Regions from separate parts of the Homo sapiens genome. Here region 1 is linked to region 2. Evidence: promoter capture Hi-C in human tissues and cell types (Jung and others, 2019). All regions are on one chromosome and are shown on one strand. Each heading gives the region's core, a stretch centred on a gene start or on the middle of the fragment in contact. The rest is flanking DNA. Distances are from core to core; before and after follow the strand shown. Region 1 overlaps CRACDL (CRACD like). Region 2 holds the start of C2orf15 (chromosome 2 open reading frame 15).

Evidence for each region. The method cuts DNA at HindIII sites, captures the fragments that hold promoters and counts their contacts. A contact is called where the count stands out against the background at its distance.
Region 1: a fragment that was not itself captured here is called in contact with the fragment with the promoter of C2orf15 in region 2 in 1 of the 25 tissues and cell types used here (hippocampus).

What each region holds. Positions count from the first base shown.
Region 1 is chr2:98,845,870-98,850,925 of GRCh38, reverse strand. CRACDL (CRACD like) reads left to right here. Exons shown (of 10, transcript NM_207362.3): 2 at 4,116-4,195. The coding sequence starts at 4,126. Among named protein-coding and RNA genes, the nearest start is that of LINC02611, 76 kb to the right of the region's middle. The HindIII fragment of the contact is 3,881 bases long and covers 1,761-5,056 here.
Region 2 is chr2:99,140,083-99,144,576 of GRCh38, reverse strand. It overlaps C2orf15 (chromosome 2 open reading frame 15), which reads right to left and starts at 2,870. Exons shown (of 4, transcript NM_144706.4): 1 at 2,640-2,870; 2 at 2,176-2,292. All of the region lies in intron 1 of TSGA10 (testis specific 10), which reads left to right. RefSeq lists an enhancer at 2,133-2,939 and silencers at 3,161-3,470, 3,541-3,610. The HindIII fragment of the contact is 7,971 bases long and covers 1-4,494 here.

The DNA of each region.
Region 1 (5,056 bases), core at 2,452-4,951, 290 kb after region 2:
ATGTGGATTAACTTTTGTAGAAATATTTCTATAGAAGCTGAGACTAATGATAGAACTCTGCTATAAGCTGGGAAGGAGGCTGTGGTCAGTTAGGGTGGAGGGAGAGGGAGTGGGGCGGCCCCCACATTAAGGGGTCTTTTTAGATGCAGGACTCCCTTGGATTCTGTGGGTGCCCAGATACACACTGACAAAGTGCTGTGCCCCGCAGCAGGGCCTGGAGGCTCAGCCCTCTGGTAAGTTCATTAGAAGCCCTGAAGAGGCCCTGGCGGTCCAGATTTAGCTTAAAGAGTAAGTTTTCTTTAACTTGGACTTGGAGCTCTCAGAACTCCAGGAGTGGAAGGGTGGAAGGCAGATGCTGGTTGAGGGGACACTGAGGTGGCCTGACTTGACCTTGGAGCTCCAGTGAGAAGCACTGTCTTCGTGTGAGGAGCAAAAGGAGGTCTGGGAGGTATTGGGTATTTGCCACATTGCCTTTCTAATTACGGTTTTACATCTGGCGTTTCCTTGAACTTTACTGCGGCTTGGGGAACGCATATTCAGAAAGGCGAGTTACTTGGCCCAACAGAGATGATGTTCCATTGTCACAGCTGTGGGGTGTTTCCACCTGGAATGTCCACATGAAGGAAACAGTTCTCCACCTTTGCAGCCTGCGGACTCCGGACAGACATTCCTCTGTGACCCTGAACGTGTTTTCATCACTTACCTGGCAGTGGTTTGAGCCCATTGGGCGGTGGGGATCAGGAAGCACAGGGGTCAGCTGGAAAGCCAGGTGTTTGTCCTGTGACTGACAATGGTGACTTTGAAGTGAGCCATTTGCTTGGAAGACTGGCGCTTACCTGCTGCCAGGGCATGCCGGGCATGTGTGCTCTGGGAGCCTTTGTCCATAAACAGTATCACGTGGTGGTGAGGAGTGGGCTGCAGAAACCGACAGCAGGGCTCAGCTTGTGCTTGCTGCATGCCATGTCCTGGTTTCATTTGATTATAGTATTATTATCCTCCTTTTGCCTATGAGGATACTGAGGCCTGGCACTGGTAGGTGGTAGGGTGAAGATGCCACCCCGGGACTGCCTAACATTCAAGTTTTTGCCACCTTCCTCCACCCCATGTTATGCTCTTATCTGTATGAAGATGCTTGGGACATAAAACATGAGTAGGTTCTGAAACCTTCCATGTGACATGAGATCCATTTGTTGTCCCTTTGTCGGTGGGCAACCTTTGCCTCCTTGTGTGAGTCCACTGGTGGTCTTGGTGGTCTTGGTGGTCTGGGGGTGCTGTCTGCATCTTCTGGCTGAGAGTAGGGTGGAAGGACCTACACAGGTGAGTCTGCATCCCCTCCCATGCTCCCCCCTCCCCGGCCCTCCGCCTACATCTGCATCTGAACCCTCTGCCCCGTGCAGCTTTCTCACAACCATGTCCTTCAACCCAGGGAGAAGCAAGCCTGAGCCTCTGGACTGATCCGGGCTTGGCAGGAGGGGGTGCCCCTCTGCACACCCACCCACAGGGCTCATACACATTCTCACACACACCTCTGGCACTCACCTTGTTCTTCCCAACAAGGACACTTTTCATTTGCAAGGTGTCCACATGACCTTGATGTGTTGCGTAACATCATGGTTTCTCCAGAGTGTTAATCCTTTCCCAGTTAGCTGACACATCACAGTGGCCTCCGGTTCCTTTCCCCAGACGAAGAAACCCCATCAGACCCAGTGCATGATCTCTCGGGGCTCCTCCAGCCTCTGAGTTCTGGCCTGACCCTGGGTAAGGCTTCTTGGCAGGCAGAGCCATTTCAGTGGGAGATCCTGTCCTTTGGATTCTCCAGCTTCTCTTGAGCCCCACTGGGGACAGCTCAGGGCTCTGCCCTTCACTGGGTCAGCACCTGCAAGAGGTGGGAACCACGTGGGTCTCATCTGTCACTGTATCCCAGTGCCTCAGAAGCACCTGCCCATGCTGGGTATGCAGTCAGTGTGAGTGTAGACGCCATATCTGCTCTGCTACCTTAGGCAAGTTAATAAACCGCTTAATATCAGAAATGTTCTCTGCTGGGTGCAGTGGCTTACACCTGTAATCCCAAGCACTTTGGGAGGCCAAGGCAAGCAGATTGCTTGAGCTCAAGAGTTCAAGACCAGCCTGGCCAACATGGCGAAACCCCGTTTCTACAAAAAATACAAAAAATTAGCCAAGTGTGGTGGCGTGGGCCTGTGTTCCCAGCTATTTGTGGGGGGGCTGAGGTGGGAGGATCTCTTGAGCCCAGGAGGTTGAGGATGCAGTGAGCTAAAAATGTTCTCATCTCCAAAATGGGAATATTAAAAGTTCTTGGGGATTAAATGAGATAATTCAGGTGATAGCTGCATGCTTGATAAGTAATTTGCAGTTGCCATGGTTAACTCCAAATTCAGGCAATGGAAAACTCTTGCACTGAGCTAGAGCTCAGTGGCAGCCTCAGGAGATGGCACTGAGGGGAACAGATGGTGACTCCTAGGCCACCCTCACCATCTTCACTCTTCCCCTTACACCGTATGTTTTCCTTCTCCATTGCCTCTTCCATTGAATCCCCGGCAGCTACCACCTCTAAAGGACTCTTGGGGATGAGGGGGTTGCTGACTGACTAACATATTGCAGGGGGGATTGAGGGGGTGACCTTTGGAACACCTGGGCCTTTGGGTTGGGCCATCAGCCTAGAACTACTATCATTCTGCTGTTTGATAGCATTGTCTGTTGCTTTGAATGTGAACACAGATGATGAAAGCAAGGATGTCCTTTGAAGCCTAAAACAGTGGTAAAGGATTTGAAAAATACTGTTTCTGTCCAACCCTCATTTTATAGATAATGATAGCATGATCATGAGTCAAATCTGGTGAGGTTCCAAGAGTTTTTGGCAGAGCCGACACAAGACCGGACATTTTTTTGAAGCCAAATTGTATGAACATTGAGAGCTGGAGCTGGTGAAACTTTGTTCAGCTTTTGAGGGATTGGCTGGTAGGGAGGATGAACATTAGAAGAAATCGAAATATTAGAGCCAACTCGGGCACACACCCGCAAATCCTTTTCTCTGTTTGTGTTTTCTTTGCATTTCTCCCATCATTTCCCATTCTGTGCTGTGTACAAGTGGTAAACGTGAATTGGTTAAATATTCAAGCCCCCCTTTTTAAGTGTGAGGATTCGTCATACCTAACAGTAAGAAATAGCTTTCTAAATAAATGGTGTGATAGTATATGGAGGTAGAGCATACTGTAACAGTCAGTTATGGAAGGCATGGACACCACTAGCTCAGTATTCTGTAGCAGGAATATTGACCTGTGATCATGCATTTGGTTTCCATGAAGAGTGAGGGATTTTTTTATTCAGGAAGCAGCTGAATTTATATGGATTAAATGATCATCATGTCTGGGATGATTTGCTTAGAAATCACCTCATAGGAGTGGGATGGGGTGTGGGGGTAAAGATGAAGCAAGATTAGCCATACCTTGAGTTCATTATATGTTGTTCATATTTTTGTATCTGTTTGACATTTTTCATTGCATTCAAAAAAGAATTTCAATGTAAATAAATAATGGTACAGTAGTATATCAAAATATTAGGTAGCCATTAAAATAACACGTGAATAATTTTAATGATGTGGTGTAAGTAAGAAAATCAGGAAGTCAAGCTTCCTAATATGATATGTGTGCATGTGGATAAAATATTTGCGTAAAAAATTATTGGAAGGAAATGAAAACATTAACTGTGGTTATCCTTGGTTGGTTGGATTATGGGTGATTTTCATTCTATTTTCCAAACTTCCTGTAGTAAACAAGAGAAAAAAATCATTTCTTATAATTTGAGAAAAGCTTTTTTGAAAGAAACCTAATCTGCAGTGTGTAAATTAGTGAAGCATTTGTTTCAGTGATCTGTTTTCCATTAAATTGCCCCAGTCAGTGATTAAACGCTTATGCGGTTACTGATCTTGTGGCTGTGGATATGGTTTTGGCCTGTACTGTGCTGCACTCTGCCCTGGACTGTCTTTGCTGGGGTGTGTGCAGGCCAGATCATGGCAAATGCAGTCACGAACACCATTTCACTCATTGGTAACTTCTGCTAACCATGTTTCTTTAACGTGAATTTCCATATAATTTCAGCGAGCTTGACATGATTTCCACAAGGGTGATGGACATTAAGCTTCGGGAGGCTGCAGAAGGCCTTGGGGAGGACAGCACAGGTAAGGCCCTGCTTCCCCTGCTCTGGGGAGGGCACTTGCTTTGTTGTGGGGCAGGGAGAGGGACTGACAGAGGCAGGCCTTTGGGGCTTTCTGTATGAAAAGTGGGGATTTAGTTCCCAGTGTGCTCAGATACCCCCAGGCCCTTCACGCTGTGACTGGGGGCACATGCACATTATTTAAGGCTGCTCGGGGCAGATTTCCTCTGCTTCTGTGTCAAGCACGGGGACCTTTCAGCTCATTTTCCTCCTTTCTGGAGGTAAGCATGTCCCCATGTTTGGCTGACTTGAATGCAAAGGAAGAGGTACTAAATGGATTCATTCACCATCTAAGAATATCCAAAGGCATCAGTAGGAAGCTGAGCAAAGTACCTGATAGCCTGATCATCTGTAAAAAAATAATTACATCAGGAGAGAGCCTTTGATCCCTCTCCTTCATGACTTTTGTTCTGAAGGAGATCTTTAGTATGTTGTCTGCTGAGCTGAGTTCTAGGCCCATGAATCACCATCTCATAAGACTTTCTAAGAGTTCTCCAATTATGTCATTGGTTTACTGTTATCCAAATATTGCTATTTATGTCCTGATAGAGTTGTAAAATTGACATTAAAAAATTAATCTCCCCACAATGTACCTTTTCTCTAGATTTGCCATTCATATACTCCCTTTATTTTGGTGACCAAGGCCTCCATCTCTCTCTTATTTACACTGAAAATGCCAGTAGTGATTTTCTTTGATATAGTTCAGGAGAAACAGCTCCCAATAATATTAAATCCTAGCTGCTAGCCACTAGCTTCAGATACTAATTTCAGCAAATACTCCATTTCAGATATTAAAGATAGATTTTTTCTTATTATTTCATATTAG
Region 2 (4,494 bases), core at 1,621-4,120:
CCCGGGTTCAAGCAAGTCTCCTGCCTCAGCCTCCCGAGTAGCTGGATTACAGGCATGAGCCACCGTGCCCCGCCTGCTTTCAGCATCAAAACACAAAACACATGAAGCAATGGCTTTTAGATATTGGACAACAGGCAGTTCGGGAGAGTGATCCTTGAGAAACAGGAAATAAAGTGAGCCCTATGAATGGACATTGCCTGGAACTTTCAGGCCTCGGCATAAGGAGGAAACTCTCTGATTTAAAAAACGGAACACAGGCCGGGCGCGGTGGCTCATGCCTGTAATCCCAGCACTTTGGGAGGCCGAGGCGGGCAGGTCATGAGGTCAGGAGATCGAGATCATCCTGGCTAACACAGTGAAACCCCGTCTCTACTAAAAATACAAAAAAATTAGCCGGGCGTGGTGGTGGGCGCCTGTAGTCCCAGCTGCTCGGGAGGCTGAGGCAGGAGAATGGCGTGAAGCCGCGAGGCAGAGCTTCCAGTGAGCGGAGATCGCGCCACTGCACTCCAGCCTGGGAGACAAAGCGAGACTCCATCTCAAAAAAACAAACAAAAAAAAGGAACACAGCATCAGTGAGCTGTGGAACAAGATCAAGTGGCTTAACACATATGGAATTGGAGTCCCAGATTTTTTTTTGAGGGGATCAGGAAGAGGACAGTGAAAACAAAACAAAAAATAGTAATAACAGAGGTTTTTGTAGTGAAGCTTTTGAAATGATGGAAAAATTAAGGGACTAGAAAACCAAGACCTTAGAAGGTGTCTGTCACGAGAGAGCAAGCACAGGGTACTATATAAGGCTTAGCCTGGGCCAGGCACAGTGGCTCATGCATATAATCCCAGCACTTGGGATGCTGAGGTGGGTGGATCACTTGAGTCCAGGAGTTCAAGACCAGCCTGGGCAACATGGTGAAACCGCATCTCTACAAAAACATACAAAAATTAGCTGGGCATGGTGGCACATACCTGTGGTCCCAGCTACTCAAGGGGCTAAGGCAGGAGAACTGCTTCAACCTGAAAGGTGGAGGGTGCAGTGAGCTGAGATCATGCCAACGCACTCCAGCCTGGGTACAGGGCAACAGAGTGAGACTCTGTCTTAAAAAAAAGGAAAAAAAAAAAAAGTCTGGGCGCAGTGGCTCACACCTGTAATCCCAGCACTTTGGGAGGCTGAGGCGGGTGGATCATGAGGTCAGGAGATCAAGACCATCCTGGCTAACACAGTGAAACCCTGTCTCTACTAAAAATACAAAAAACAAAAAACAAACAAAAAAAAAGCTGGGCGTAGTAGTGGGCGCCTGTAGTCCTAGCTACTTGGGAGGCTGAGGCAGGAGAATGGCATGAACCCGGGAGGCGGAGGTTGCAGTGAGCCGAGATCGTGCCACTGCACTCCAGCCTGGGCGACAGAGTGAGACTCTGTCTCAAAAAAAAAAAAAAAAAAAAAAAAAAGGTTTAGTTGGGGCAGGGTGGGACACTCACTACCCCTTGGGTTTCCACAGAGGGAAGGAAATTTTTACTTTCTCAGGTTAGGGGAGAAAGTCAACAGTTCTTGATAGGAAAAAAAAGGAAAATCTTTTCACCCTCTTTTGGCCTTAAAATGATCATTTCCTTATATTCTTTCCAAATAATCTTCAGTACCGTCTAGGTGGCATACATAAGTGCTTAAACTTTTCTTATTCTTTCTATAAGGGAAGTACTTTCCTACTTCCTATATTAATAATCTCCCCACCCCCGAAGTCTTCAACTCCAGCTGATAGTTTTAAACTTAGAACATTCTTTCCTATTTGTTTTTAATAATGCTAGATAATGTATTCAAAATAATCTTAGTATCTGAAGAGGAAATGAGATTATACATTATTCCCTCTAACATAACTTCTCAGTTTGTTATTTTGTGCATTTAAAAAATTACATTTCCGAGGATATGTGCTCCTTGTGTCCTCTAACCTCTTAATCTAAAATAACAGGGACACTTAATTTTTTTTGGTATCTAATTATACTTACAAAGTATATGATATCTGAAAATAAATGCGACAAAATATGAGACCATGTAATAACACGATGAAAAGACATTGGAAAAACATGGCATTTATATTAAATGTATTTTTATGACTAAATTTGTTCTACACAAAAGTTGTTTATCCCTGCCAATGATATCTTGTGGGGGGAAAAATGAGTACTCACCTGGCGAAAACAGGAATTGTTAGTCTCCTCAAACGAGAGCTTACTCTTGAAATACACAGCGTTCTACCATATCAAGGTCATCAGAGAATTGCTGTAAAAACCTAGTGTCTATGTCATCTGCAGGAAAAGGAGATAAAGTCACCATTATCATCCAGAAGCTCTTGAGTTATTTAAGAAGGGACATGGTAGGTATTAAGAAAAATTAAGAAGACTTTTTTCCCCCCCATTCTGGGCTCCAAAAAATTGGTAGAAGAATGCAGCGCTCATTCTTTTTCACTAAAAAGCTCATTTGTCACTTTAAGGTGAGGGGATTTGGAAAAGGACTGGCATGTGGAGAAGGAATATCGGTCAGGAATCTGGACTTTGTTGCTAGATCTGCCACTTCCTGATTCAGCCCTGATCGTGCAGAGCTGACCAAGGCCGTGGTCCCCAGGCTCCCCTGACTCCAGGCTGCCCACGCTCACCGGGACAGGCCGGCTCGCTCCCTGCAGGCTGCAGCGGGAGGGCTGGACCTGGAAGCCTCTCTTAAAACGGGCCCTGGCTGCAGCAGGAGCTGCGCCCGAAAGCAGCTCTGAGAGTAACCGGTTCACCGAACATGGGTCCAGAATGATGCCCAAGCCCTGGGAAAAGTGGCACAAAGCCACCGCCGCGAAGCAGCAGGTGTTTCAAGCTGAGGGAAGGCGGGGCTGCGAGAGACAGCCTTGCGCATGCGCGTTCCATCCAGGTGCGGCAGCCTCAGGCAGAGATTAAGAAATGAGTCGTGGAAAAGGGGGCTAGCGGCTGGTTACTAGGAGACGGGACGCTCGGCTCGGGCGTCTAGGCGCTGCGTGGGCGTGCGCCTGCGCGGCGCGGATGGGCCAGGAAGGGGTCCCTCCTAGGTGCCCTGTAAGGCAGGCAGGTAGACGTACGCGTCGCTCCGTGCGTAGGAGCGCGCGCACGGCTTGTAGACCCCGCGAGAAGGAAGGTCGAGCCAGGTACGCGTGCGCACCGGGCCTGGGGGCGAGCGGGACGGAAGCAAAGCTGGGGCGCCGGGGAGGTGGAAGACGAGCCCCACTCCGGTACAGAGCGTGAGGGCGGGGCCACGGCGGCACTGGCTGGCGCTAACCGCCCCCTCCTCCTTCCCGCGGGCTCCGTCCTTCCTCCGATCCGCCGGGGCGGGGCCAGGACGATTTGGGGGTGGGAAGGGAGGAGAAAGGGGCGGAGGATGGAGAGTGGGCGGTTCTTGTATCCCCCGCTGAGGCCGAGAGCTGACAGTCGCGGGGATGAGCTCTGGGCAGGACGGCGGGCCGAGGAGCCCGGGGAGGGACCCGGAGCTCCAGGTAGAAGCTGCGGAGGTGCGCGGGGTGGGGAGAGTGCTGCTACTGGACTGGAAGGTCTCTGAGAAGGCGGCTGCAAGCGGGCAGGAGTGGCGGGTGCGGGGCCGTGGCGGGCGGAGTTGGGCGCTAGCAGCGGGAGCGGCTGTGAGGGGCAGCGGCGGGCACAGCTGCCGGCCGGAAGCTCGGCAGCACGAGTTGCCCCTGTTTCTTGGGAGGTTAGGTTTGAGCCCAGTTCCTATGGTCACTGCTTCGCGTCCTCCCGCAGCTCTCCGCTTGGTTGTTGGGGAGACTGTTCAGTTTAGAAACGCTCTGGAAGCTCTGGTGGAGCCGAGGAATTTGGAAGTCACAGATTTGGGAGTTCAGCCTGACTCCCGATCGCTCATTTCTGAGCCTCTTTCTAGACTTGGGGTGGTGAAAGGCTGAGATTACATAGGCATTTGCATGAAAATCTCAGATAATTTTAGTAAAAATTATACACAGTAAAGGCAGGGAAAGCTGGCTTTTGTTGAAAAACTATTTGAGACTTAAATTGGATAACTAGGTGATCATGGACTTGATACCTAAAAACTCACAGAAATATGGTTTTTTTTCACTTTTTTTTTTTCGCAGCTTCGGGAAAGTTTGCATAGATTATAGTGTCCCAACGTTTTCCTTCTTCCATTCCAGGACCTTATATCCTAGGAGATTTCCTTGTTTAAAATTTTCTGTACTGGTGTTCAGCATTTCAAGTATACTTTGTTTACGTGTAAGGACATAAGTAGAATAACAATAGGTTTGTAAGTAGAAAAAAACAGGTTAGTTATAGAAGTAGGATGTCGCATTCGAATCTGCTTCCAGGATAAGACAGATTCTTGTTTGTATTTTAATTGATTAATGAGCCAAACTCTTCAGTCTTAATTAGTGGGAAATAACTAGGACGGTACATTAATTAAATATTAATTTTAAATCCTAAACTTTGGCATTATTTAATGGCAGCTTCCACAATATCTCGCGTACTGTTTAC